Regions from separate parts of the Homo sapiens genome. Here region 1 is linked to region 2. Evidence: promoter capture Hi-C in 16 types of primary human blood cells and fetal thymus (Javierre and others, 2016). All regions are on one chromosome and are shown on one strand. The core of a region is centred on a gene start or on the middle of the fragment in contact, and the rest is flanking DNA. Distances in the headings are between cores, read along the strand shown.

Region 1 (4,744 bases), core at 408-2,907, 540 kb before region 2:
TTTGGGTGGGGACACAAATCCAAACCATATCACCCGCTATGATTGTGGGAGGATCAATCAAATCAGCCAGCAGGTGGGAAGCACTTAGCACAGTGTTATGTGGCAGGCACTTAATAAATGCTTGCTGGAACTAAGGCAAGAATTAGGTACAGGAAGTGAGACATCAAGGCCAGACAACAAACCTGTTTTGCTGAGCATTTTGTCCAAGTGCTCTTAAAATACTTTTGTCTGGGATTGGTTTCTTTGTGCAGGACTGGGATTAGAACTAAGAGGCCCCTCCATGGGGAACTGCAGGCTCCAGGAGCCAGGCTGCCATCTCAGAAACCACCGGGTCTTTTGACTCTCCCAAAGCTATCTATAGCCCACAATGACACACAGTAGGTGCTCACTAAGTATCTGTTGAAGCATCAATGCACTTAACAGAGGGATGTGAACAACCTGACTCCCAGGAGCTACTGAACAGTAAAACACTGAGGTTTGCTTTAGTCAGACAAGCTTTGTCTTCTCGGAACAAACAAAAAAACAATAAAAATAAATCAGACAAGGCTTTGTTTCTGAAAGACACTGAACAAATACACTTGAGGTATTATCTCAAGAAAAATCAATGTCTTTCCCATCCACCGGTGTACGTGCCTTTGGCATTGACTTGGAAACACTGAAACCCTCCTGGCCCAGTGCTCTCTTGAGTCCACAGGCTGAGAATACCAGTTCCAGCATTCCCAGCTGGCCAAGCCGATGAGAACTCATTTCCTTCTTGGAGTGCAGAGCCATCACTGCAGGTACTAACATGCCTTCGTGCTCTCTGCCTTCTGGCTAACAAAGCAAGCAGACAAAGAAAAGAGGAGGCAATGCAGGCAACTGTGGGGCTAGGAGTTTTGAAGAGTGGAGTTTGGGAACTATTACAGAGAGGTTAAGTGGAGGAGGCTGGCCTAGAACTAAGAAGATACTTGGCTGGGCCACGGAATCACCTGGGGACTATTAATTTATTTATTTGTGAGATAGGGTTTCGCTGTGTCGCCCAGGCTAGAGCGTAGTGATACGACCATAGCTCACTGCAGCCTGTAACTCCTGGGTTCAAATGATCCTCCCACTTCAGCTTCCCAAGTAGCTAGGACTATACAGTCCTGGGGCATTTTAAATAATGACAGTTTCCTAGGTCCTACCCAAGACCAGATTCTCCATCTTAAAATGCTCTTTAGGAGATTCTATGATGAAAAAAAAAATGCAGAAATCAAGTTCTGCTTAGACACCATTACTCTGAGTGACCTCCAACTTTTTGCAGCTTACCAAGGGGGTCTCAGGCTGGAGATAACTTCTCCCCAAGTGTTCCCCTGGGAGGACTTAGCTGACAATATTGAAAAGGAGAGATTTTTTTTTAAGAACATACAGAGGTGTCTAAAATAGTTGAACTCATGGAAGCAAAGAATAGAATTGTGGTTGCCAGGCACTAGGGGGAGAGAGGAAAAGAGTTGGTATTTAACAAGAATAAAATTTCAGTTATGCAAGATGAATAAGTTCTAAAGATATGCTCTACAACACTGTGCCTAGAGATAACAATACTATATTGTACACTTAAATATCTGTTAAGAATGTAGATCTCATGTAAAGCGTTCTTACCACAATAAAATGTTTTAAAAATGAATGGAAGAATAAAAAAGAACATAGAGCATGGAAAAGAAGAGCTGGAAAATTCTCAGTGGTGTGTCTCATGGTTGCAGCCATGTGTCTGTAAATATATCTTGGAAAGAATTCATCCTCAGAAATAATTACACAGAATGACTAATATAGAAGATAAATGTTTCATTATAACTGTTTAATAGAGCCTCAAAATTCCTCCTTTTGGTACTTTGGCTCCTAGGAAGAAAAAGTGGATGAGGAAGACCCTTTGGACATCGTCAAAAGAGGCATTGTTAGCAAATGACGGGGGGCCAGTCCTGAAAGCCTGTGAGGCTGTGAGCAACTCTCCCACCTGCTCTTCTCTGTCTGTCCTACTCCTCATGACAATGACTCTTATCCTGGAGGGCCTGCAGTAGCGTTTGACACACGTACCTCATTTAATTCTCACAAGAGTTCTATGAAACAGGCTAGGATTTGGCAAACCATTGTCAGCTACCTGTTTTTGTAAATATAGTTTTATTGGAACATAACCACCACAATTTATTTACATATTGTCTATAGCTGCTTTTACTCTACAATGGCAGAGTTGAGTAGTTGTGACAAAAGCTCTAGGCCCTGAAAAGTGCAAAATATTTATTTTACTATGTGGCCCTTTACAGCAAAGGTGTGTTGACCCCTCAGATAAATGGGACATTGCTCCCACTTTACATATGAGGCACAGAAAAGCTAAGCGCATTGACTGAGATCATTTGGGTTATAAATTATAGTGTCAGAGATGTCTCGGACCCAGAGACAACTGTTCCCTATGCTTTTCTCCTCCCTACCTTATAGCATCTCCTACTCTTTCACATTCATTTGTTCCTACTAAATGTGTCAGCCAAAAAGAACACATTCATTTGCACTGAACAAGACGTCTCAGGTTGACCATCACACAGAAGTCAACAGGAGGTTCTGGAGACTTGCAGAAAGTGATCATCCAGCATATCCTCTCCTCTCCTCTCCTAGCCCCTAAGGACTGATTCGTAGTCTGCCCAGAGTTTATAAGAGAGACAGTCATCCAACATGAATAGAGATGGCCTGAGCAGGCATGGGCTCTTTGAAATTCGGAGAGATCAGCTCAAAGATACACTGGGAAGAACCAGGTTGCCCCAAGCAAAAGGCAACAACTGCCCTTGGTTGAGCAAGATTCCTTGGGAAGCTTATTGGAGGCCCCACCTCTAAGGACAGGCCCACATTTGCCTTGTCTGCCATTCTTCCCTTACTGATGTATTCTGACCCTGTCTTGGCTTGATTTATCTTTGATGTCTTTGATGTTGCTCATGACCATGCTGCCTTCTTCCTGGGAGTTCCCATCTGGTCCTGGTTTCTGCTTCTCTTGCCTTAGCTCATACTCAAACCCTGTGGGTAACAGCCCACGTGCAACAGTGGTCTGCAGCTCCTGAGGGCTGTTGAAAAGATTGCTTCATTCAATGCCATAAAAATATCCAAGAATACAGCAATTGTTATAGAAATTATGGTAAATCTGCACAATGAAATATTATGCAGCCACTAAAACGGACATCAATTCAGATTTCTAAATGACACAATGTAGCAGAGACAGGGCCAGGTTCATGGGTGTGGGTCCTACACAGTCATACAGGGCTCCACACTTACAAGGGCCCTACACTTGGTTTAATGCTCCATGGCTGCCACCTTGAAATTCTGAATAGTTTTATAACAAGAGTCCTCCACATTTACATTTCACATTGAGCCTATAAATTGTTAGCTAGTCCTGAGCAGAGATGACTCTGAGTGCCCATTTTCTCCTGTCTTTTAGTAATAGAACCTCCTCCCTTTGCTTCATACATACACCCTGACTAGTGTTTCCACGCTGGAATTCCTTCCCAGTATTTCTTGAGAATTTTTTATGTTTCTCCAAATCTCGAAAGAAAAATCAGTCAAGAAATTGGGAAAAAGTATTGTAATTATCCTGCAGGAATCAAGGCTTAATGATCAACATAAAGACATCACTGGTTTGAATCCATCAATGTCAAATGAAAAGCAAGAGCAGGAAAGGCTGGCAGGTGGAAGAGCATATAGCACATAGGAGAGCACATAGGTCAAGAGCTGATCAGTCAATCTTGCTTGTAGCCATTGTCCTGTTCTAAGTGTGTGTTCTTGGCCCTGACTGATGCTAATGGCAAGTCATTCTTGGAAATAAAATAAGCAGTATTAGGTTTATATGTATGTATACTTTATTCAAATCCTGCTAGTGATGTTCTAGGAAATAACAAATTTGGGAAGCAAAATACGCCCTTAATTGGCAATTTCAATGTGTGATTCTGTGTAGTGCTTTAACCTTGCTAGGAGATCTGAATGTCACATTCTTTGAATATTACCCAAAAATGTTCACTGGTATTTTCTAATGTTTGATTTTTTTTTTATCTCAGGCTATAGTTGTTTATAAATTTGCTAAATGTAATATTTCTTATTTATTAAACCAATTTCTTTTAGATATCCACAGTAATGACTAAAGAGTATAAAAATTGCTGGAAGTCTTTTATTTTCTTCTTGTTACTTAGTTTTCATTTTGTAATTATAAACTTAACTCTGCGATCCAGCTAGACATGGAAGAGGATAAGGAAAATATGGAACCCAAAGGACTGTGCAAAGATTATAGGATGCTGTGAGCAAATGGGGTGGAAGCATGCTTTCCTGAGCTATAGAAGGAACGATCTGGTGGTTCAGATAAAACAATCAAATTTATTAGAGTTGTCCACAGTCAGCAGCTGTGATCTTCTTGCTGGTCTTACCATTCCTGGACCCAGAGCGTTCCAGGGCTTCCACAATACTCATGCCATCTTTCACCTTGCCAAAGACCACATGCTGTCATCCATCCTCTGTCTTGGCAGTACAGAAGAAAAACTGGGAACCATTTGTGGTGGGTCCAGCATTTGCCGTGGACAAGACGCCAGGAGCTGTATGCTTAGGATGAAGTTCTCATCATCAAATTCCTTGCTGTAGAGGGACTTGCCACCAGTGCCATTATGGTGTGTGAAGTCACCACCCTGACACACACCCCGGAATAATTCTGTAAAAGCAGGGACATTTATCACCAAATACTTTCTCTCCAGTGTTCAGAGCACAA
Region 2 (5,285 bases), core at 417-2,916:
TTCTTCGGATTCCCCCCCCTCCCCACCAACAAAGCCCTGCTTGGACAGAGAGGTCTCCCCAACATCACGAGGCAGCAAACTGAAAGCAAGAACGTGGCGAAGTGCAAACAAATCCAGTCCACAAAAGGCAGAAAAGTTTGGAGAGTTTCGGGCCTCCTGGGCCACGAGCGGGGGAGGGGAGGGAGGGAGGGGAGGAGGCGGGGAGGGGGAGGCGGGGAGGGGGCAGGGCAGGGGCCGCATGCGGGGCCCGGCGGGCGGCGCGGGCGGGCGGGCAGCGGGCGGGGGCCGGGCGCGGAGGCACTTACGGTTCGGGCGGTGGGCGAGAGCGATCCGTTGGGGAGGTAGGGGCTCGTCAGGTCGGGGATCATGATGAAGGGGTAGCCGGGATACGGTGGCCCCTTAAAGAGCCCTCCATCTTGCCTCTTGGCCGCTAACATGGCGGGGCGGCGAGGGGACAGCGGCGGCCGCGCGGAGCGGGAGAGAGTGAGGAGAAACTTTTTAGAAAGTGCCCCGAGGGGCCGGGCGCCCCGACCGGGCCGGCGCAGGGCCAGGCCGAGCCGGGCGCGGGGCCGGGGCGCGCGGGGCGGCCGGCCCGGGGGGCGGCTCCGGGCGGCTGCGGGGCGCGCGGGGCGTACTCACCTTCTTCCAAACTTTCCCGGGATTTGTCTCGGAAACTTTCGGAGCGAGGCGGAGGCCGTCTTTCCGCCTTCCCAGAGGGGTGGAGGTGGGGAGGGCGAGGGGCAAACGCCACGCAGAAGGGGGAGAAGGGGGAGAAAAAGAATCGGCGAGGTCGAGGGGGGGGTAGAAAAAAACAGGGTTACAAGTTTTTGCAATGGTGGCACCGTACGCACACGCCGCCCGCCGGGCCCCGCCGCCGCCCCCAGCCCCGATTTCTCCCCTTTCAGCAACATTTGCCAAGCCCAGGAAACAGATAAAAAACCCCACCAGCCCGAGGGGCTTTTCCTACCTCGGAATCGGAGGAGCTGTTTTGATTCGTTTCTGATTCATTGACTAGAGACGATTTGACATCAGCTAAATCCCTCTCTGCCGAGGAGTTTTCGGAGCTCTTCTCCTCCTGTTCGCCCTCGTCTTTGAAGGAAATCAGTTCGTCGTTGGCGCCTAGGTCATCCCCTCCACCGCCGTTCAGCTGCGGCATTTTTTTTTCACCCACCAGCAGCAATTTTGGAAGAAAAATGAAGGAGGAAGAAAAGCCAAAAAAAATCACCCCCAAAAAGTTTTGCCCCCCCAAAAAATATTGCAAGAAAAAGACGAGTCCAAGGTGAACTTTTTTCTGCTTGGGGGTCTTTTTCTCCTGGGGAGGGGAAAAGAGGGAGGAGGGGAGGGGAAGGGGGGGGAGATCTTCTGCACGCGTGAGTTTGGGTTTCTTTTTTCTCTCGTTCCCAAGGATCCGATCAATGTGCAAAAAAATAATAAATAAAAAAGGGGGGTAAAAAAAAAAAAAACACCAACAACAACAAGAAGTCAGATATAAAGAGCAAAGGGGGGGGGAAGCCGAAGATACAGGAGGTGCTCGTGCCGCTCGGATTTGAGTGAGTTGAAGTTAGACTGAGAGCTTTTCAGTTCAAAGGCGGCGCTGATTGACAGATAGAAAAAGGGGGATCGAAATCCGGAGGAACGGAGTAGTCTGGGAGCGGAGATTATTGACAGGGCGAGAGGAACACACTGCCTTAATGAGATGCCGGAGGGCGGGGCCGGCCCAGTGACGTGTGCATAAATAAACAGCCGGGGTGGGCGGGGCGGGGGCGGCTAACAATGATCCTTTCGGGCGCCGGGAGAGGGAGGAGGGAAAGAAGGAGGAAGAGAGGGGCGGGGAAGCCGGGGGGAGACGGAGGGAGGAGTGTGCAGGGGGAGCGGCCTGCGCGGAGTGTGTGCGAGCCCGGGATTCTGGGCGAGGGTGCAGGGACTTGCTCCGGGAGGGGGCGGTTTCAGAAAGACAATGCGGGGTGGGAGAGGAGGAGAAGGGGGTGGCGACCAAGTCAGGAATCCGAGCCGAGGAAGGCGGAAGGAAAGCCCACTTGGGGGGCGGGGATGGGGAGAGGCCCAAAACAGTGCACTTTAGAAATATTAGAAATAAGTCTTAAGGGAGGGGGAAAAGGAAGGGTAGTATTTGAGAAAGTGGTGGCTGGGGGAGGGGGTGGGGGGGTGCTTGGTGGTTAATTCAGCAGTGAAATCAGCCACCCTTAGACGGGATGCGACAAAAGTGGTCAAAAGGAAAGATCAACCCTCCACTTTCAGAGAGCTTGGGGAAGTGAAGGGGCTGGTCAAAGTTCCTGGTCATCTACAATGAAAGAAACTATTAACCCATGAGGCCTCCCTCCTCCCTTTTTTGTTTATTAGTAGTGAATCATTTCATGAAATGTTAAGTCCCACTAGGATGGATATGCCAAAACGACTTTTTATGCAAAAAACAAATGCTAAATGTCAGAAACATTAAAAGTATCCTTAAGGAAAAATATATGATTCTTTTAAATGTAGAGTGGTGTTTTGCTTTTTTTTTTTTTTTTTTAACTGACGTTGGAGGTAGTAGGAAATGAGCTAGAGTCAAAGTCCTTTTTGACTTAGGAGGTGAAAAGTTTGGGCGTTAACACCGTCAGGGAAAATAAAACTGAAAGTTCACCAACCCCTGGGATCAGTTGGGCTACAGTGTTTCTCGAAGGGGGTCTGAAATGAAATCCCCGAAAGACTGACCAAAATAATCAAGATGTAGGTGGCTCTGGCAGGAAATTGCTAACCAAACCGATGCTAGAAGACCTTCGGGAGAAGATGGGAAACCTGGGGCTTGAGGCAGGTATTTGTTGACTTTTAGGTATTAGAGGAGGAGCAGACTGATTTGCTACAAAATGGGGAATGGAATTATGTTAAAGAGGAAAGACCCAGCTCCCAAAACACAATGTTCCTGGGTGATAGAGCAAGAAAATTCATTTTTGCAAATACCCAGTAAGAAGTAGACTGGACACTACAACATGAAAAAGAGAAAAAAGAAAAAAATAAATCAGTAGGATTTAGCAAATTGCCTCTTAGGAGTAGTATTAGTCTAGAGTCCAGGATGTACTGTTGTCCCACCCTTCCCTGAAAAAGCTCACCTGCACTTCAGCTGGCCCATCAGCACCGAGGTTTCCAAAAGAAAGCAAATTTGCCATGTAATATTTAGAGAGTTTGGGGTTTCAGCAAAACTGTTTTATAGGCTAAAGTCTCAGAAAGACTACTAAAAATAATGATACCGAGATTGACAAGGCCAACGAATTCCCCTGCACTGGAAAAAAATCACAACCACATTTGCACACTAAAGAATAAGATGCAGGCAAAATAAAAATGGGTTGGGGGGGAGGCAGAGGAGAATCACTGTAACTCCCAACTTTGATATTAATCAGAATATCAGAAGTAGAGTGAGAAGGAGCCTGAAAAGAAGTAAAACAAATGTGTACATTTAATCAGACAGGATTGCATAGGATACAAAGCACAGGGCTAATTAGTCTCAGCAGGTAGGACTAACCTTCAGACTTCATAAATAAATAAGGCAGGTGCAGTGTCTAAGAGGGAGAGTGGAGACAGAAAGGGGATTATTTCAAGACACCAAGTGAAAACATGAAGAATGAAATGCTTCACTGTTAAATCCATGTACAAATGGACTTAACAGTTTCCTTTTTTAGGTCTTTTACTTGGTTGCCTTTAGATTTACACATTTAGCGAAATGACCATAGCTTTATACACTTGCTAATTGTCACCTGTATACTTGATGTGCCTAAGTCTGTCTATATGCAGCGTAGACTTTACTAAGGCTCATTTTAGGGACTTAGTTACTTAAACTGGAACACATTTATAGGAACTCAATTTTATGGCAATTTCTTTGTCCTGTGTGGTAGTTTTTTGTTTTTTATTTTTTTAATCAAACCCTGGTCTGAATTAAGTTGGATAATGAGGTCTTCTATGTTCTTTATAGTACTACCTGTATAATAAAATCTCAGGAATATACTGAATTGAAATTTTAAAGAATGTACTTACTGATTTTACTATACTGGCCTGCATTTTTATCATATGTAAATACTAAGGGCTTTGTTCCCATGATTAGTAACTTTATCCATTTTGGCATATCCTTATTTTTCTCATTCAAAGGGAACTCTTTTGAATCTCTCCTTCCTTAAATCTCTGATTTAATTAAGCAATTAAAAAGTTATTCTGTGATAGTGCATGTCCCACATTTAATTTCGTTGCCTGGTGCTGTACAAAGGCTTGAGTAGACCAGCAAGATCTCAGAGGGGCCAGATCCCTGATGCTCTGCAAGTCCCTCAGGTGATGCCTGAATTGAGGAGCGGGGGGGAATGGCAGAATTGGCACTGCAGTAGCCAGGCAGCAAGGTATTGAAAAATACCTTGAATAGCCGGGCGCAGTGGCTCATGCCTGTAATCCCAGCACTTTGGGAGGCCAAGGCGGGCGGATCACGAGGTCAGGAGATCGAGACCATCCTGGCTAACACGGTGAAACACCGTCTCTACTAAAAATACAAAAAATTAACCAGGCGTGGTGGCGGGTGCCTGTAGTCCCAGCTACTCGGAAGGCTGAGGCAGGAGAATGGCGTGAACCCGGGAGGCGGAGCTTGCAGTGAGCCGTGATGGCGCCACTGCACTCCAGCCTGGCCAACAGAGCGAGACTCCGTCTCAAAAAAAAAAAAAAAAAGAAAAGAAAAAAAAAGAAAAATACCTTGAATACTATTTGAAAAAAAAGGTAGGCTGGCCCACAATGTGAATGTGTAATTTATAGATTTGGTGTGAAATTTTAAACACAGTTGACTTGGGTCCAAGTGCTGAGGCAACTTCTCTGTGGATACTGATGACTCCTGGTTTATAGGACCAAGCGTTCTGCCCAAATGGCAGAGATTTGAAAAACACAGGAAACCAGACCAGTTCTGACTTTAGCCTGAGCCAGGGGATTTTGCCACCATGGGCTCTGCATGTTGGGAAATGGGTGGGAGGGGGGAGAAGCTGTGCCCTCATCCCTTGGAATCCAGTTAGGTCTCTGCATATTTTGGGAGGAAGGCAGGGAGAAGCTGGGCCCTCACCCCTTGGAGTCCATTCCTGGCGCCAGTCCAGGTCCTGAACTGTAAGTAGCTGTCCCTAGGCCTCTCTGACTTTGACCTCGCCCTCTTCATCCACTGCCCTTCTGCTGCTTCTCTTCTGTTTTCTCCTCTCCTTCAGCCCTCCCTTGATTAAATCCTTCTCTTTGGATACATGCTGATACCTTAAAACTTAAGTGAGTAGTGTTACCTC

What was found. The method cuts DNA at HindIII sites, captures the fragments that hold promoters and counts their contacts. A CHiCAGO score of 5 or more calls a contact.
Region 1: a contact is called between a fragment that was not itself captured here and the fragment with the promoter of TCF7L2 in region 2, in 1 of 17 cell types (M1 macrophages). The highest score is 5.0, in M1 macrophages.

The regions. Positions count from the first base shown.
Region 1 is chr10:113,482,732-113,487,475 of GRCh38, reverse strand. LOC107984270 (a long non-coding RNA gene) reads left to right here. Exons shown (of 2, transcript XR_001747591.2): 2 at 1,859-4,744. It also overlaps the pseudogene PPIAP39. Among named protein-coding and RNA genes, the nearest start is that of HABP2, 68 kb to the left of the region's middle. The HindIII fragment of the contact is 2,320 bases long and covers 498-2,817 here.
Region 2 is chr10:112,946,628-112,951,912 of GRCh38, reverse strand. It overlaps TCF7L2 (transcription factor 7 like 2), which reads right to left and starts at 1,666. Exons shown (of 15, transcript NM_001367943.1): 1 at 968-1,666; 2 at 640-706; 3 at 306-430. The coding sequence starts at 1,156. LOC124902502 (a long non-coding RNA gene) reads left to right here. Exons shown (of 2, transcript XR_007062291.1): 1 at 1-135; 2 at 906-1,284. The HindIII fragment of the contact is 8,187 bases long and covers 1-5,285 here.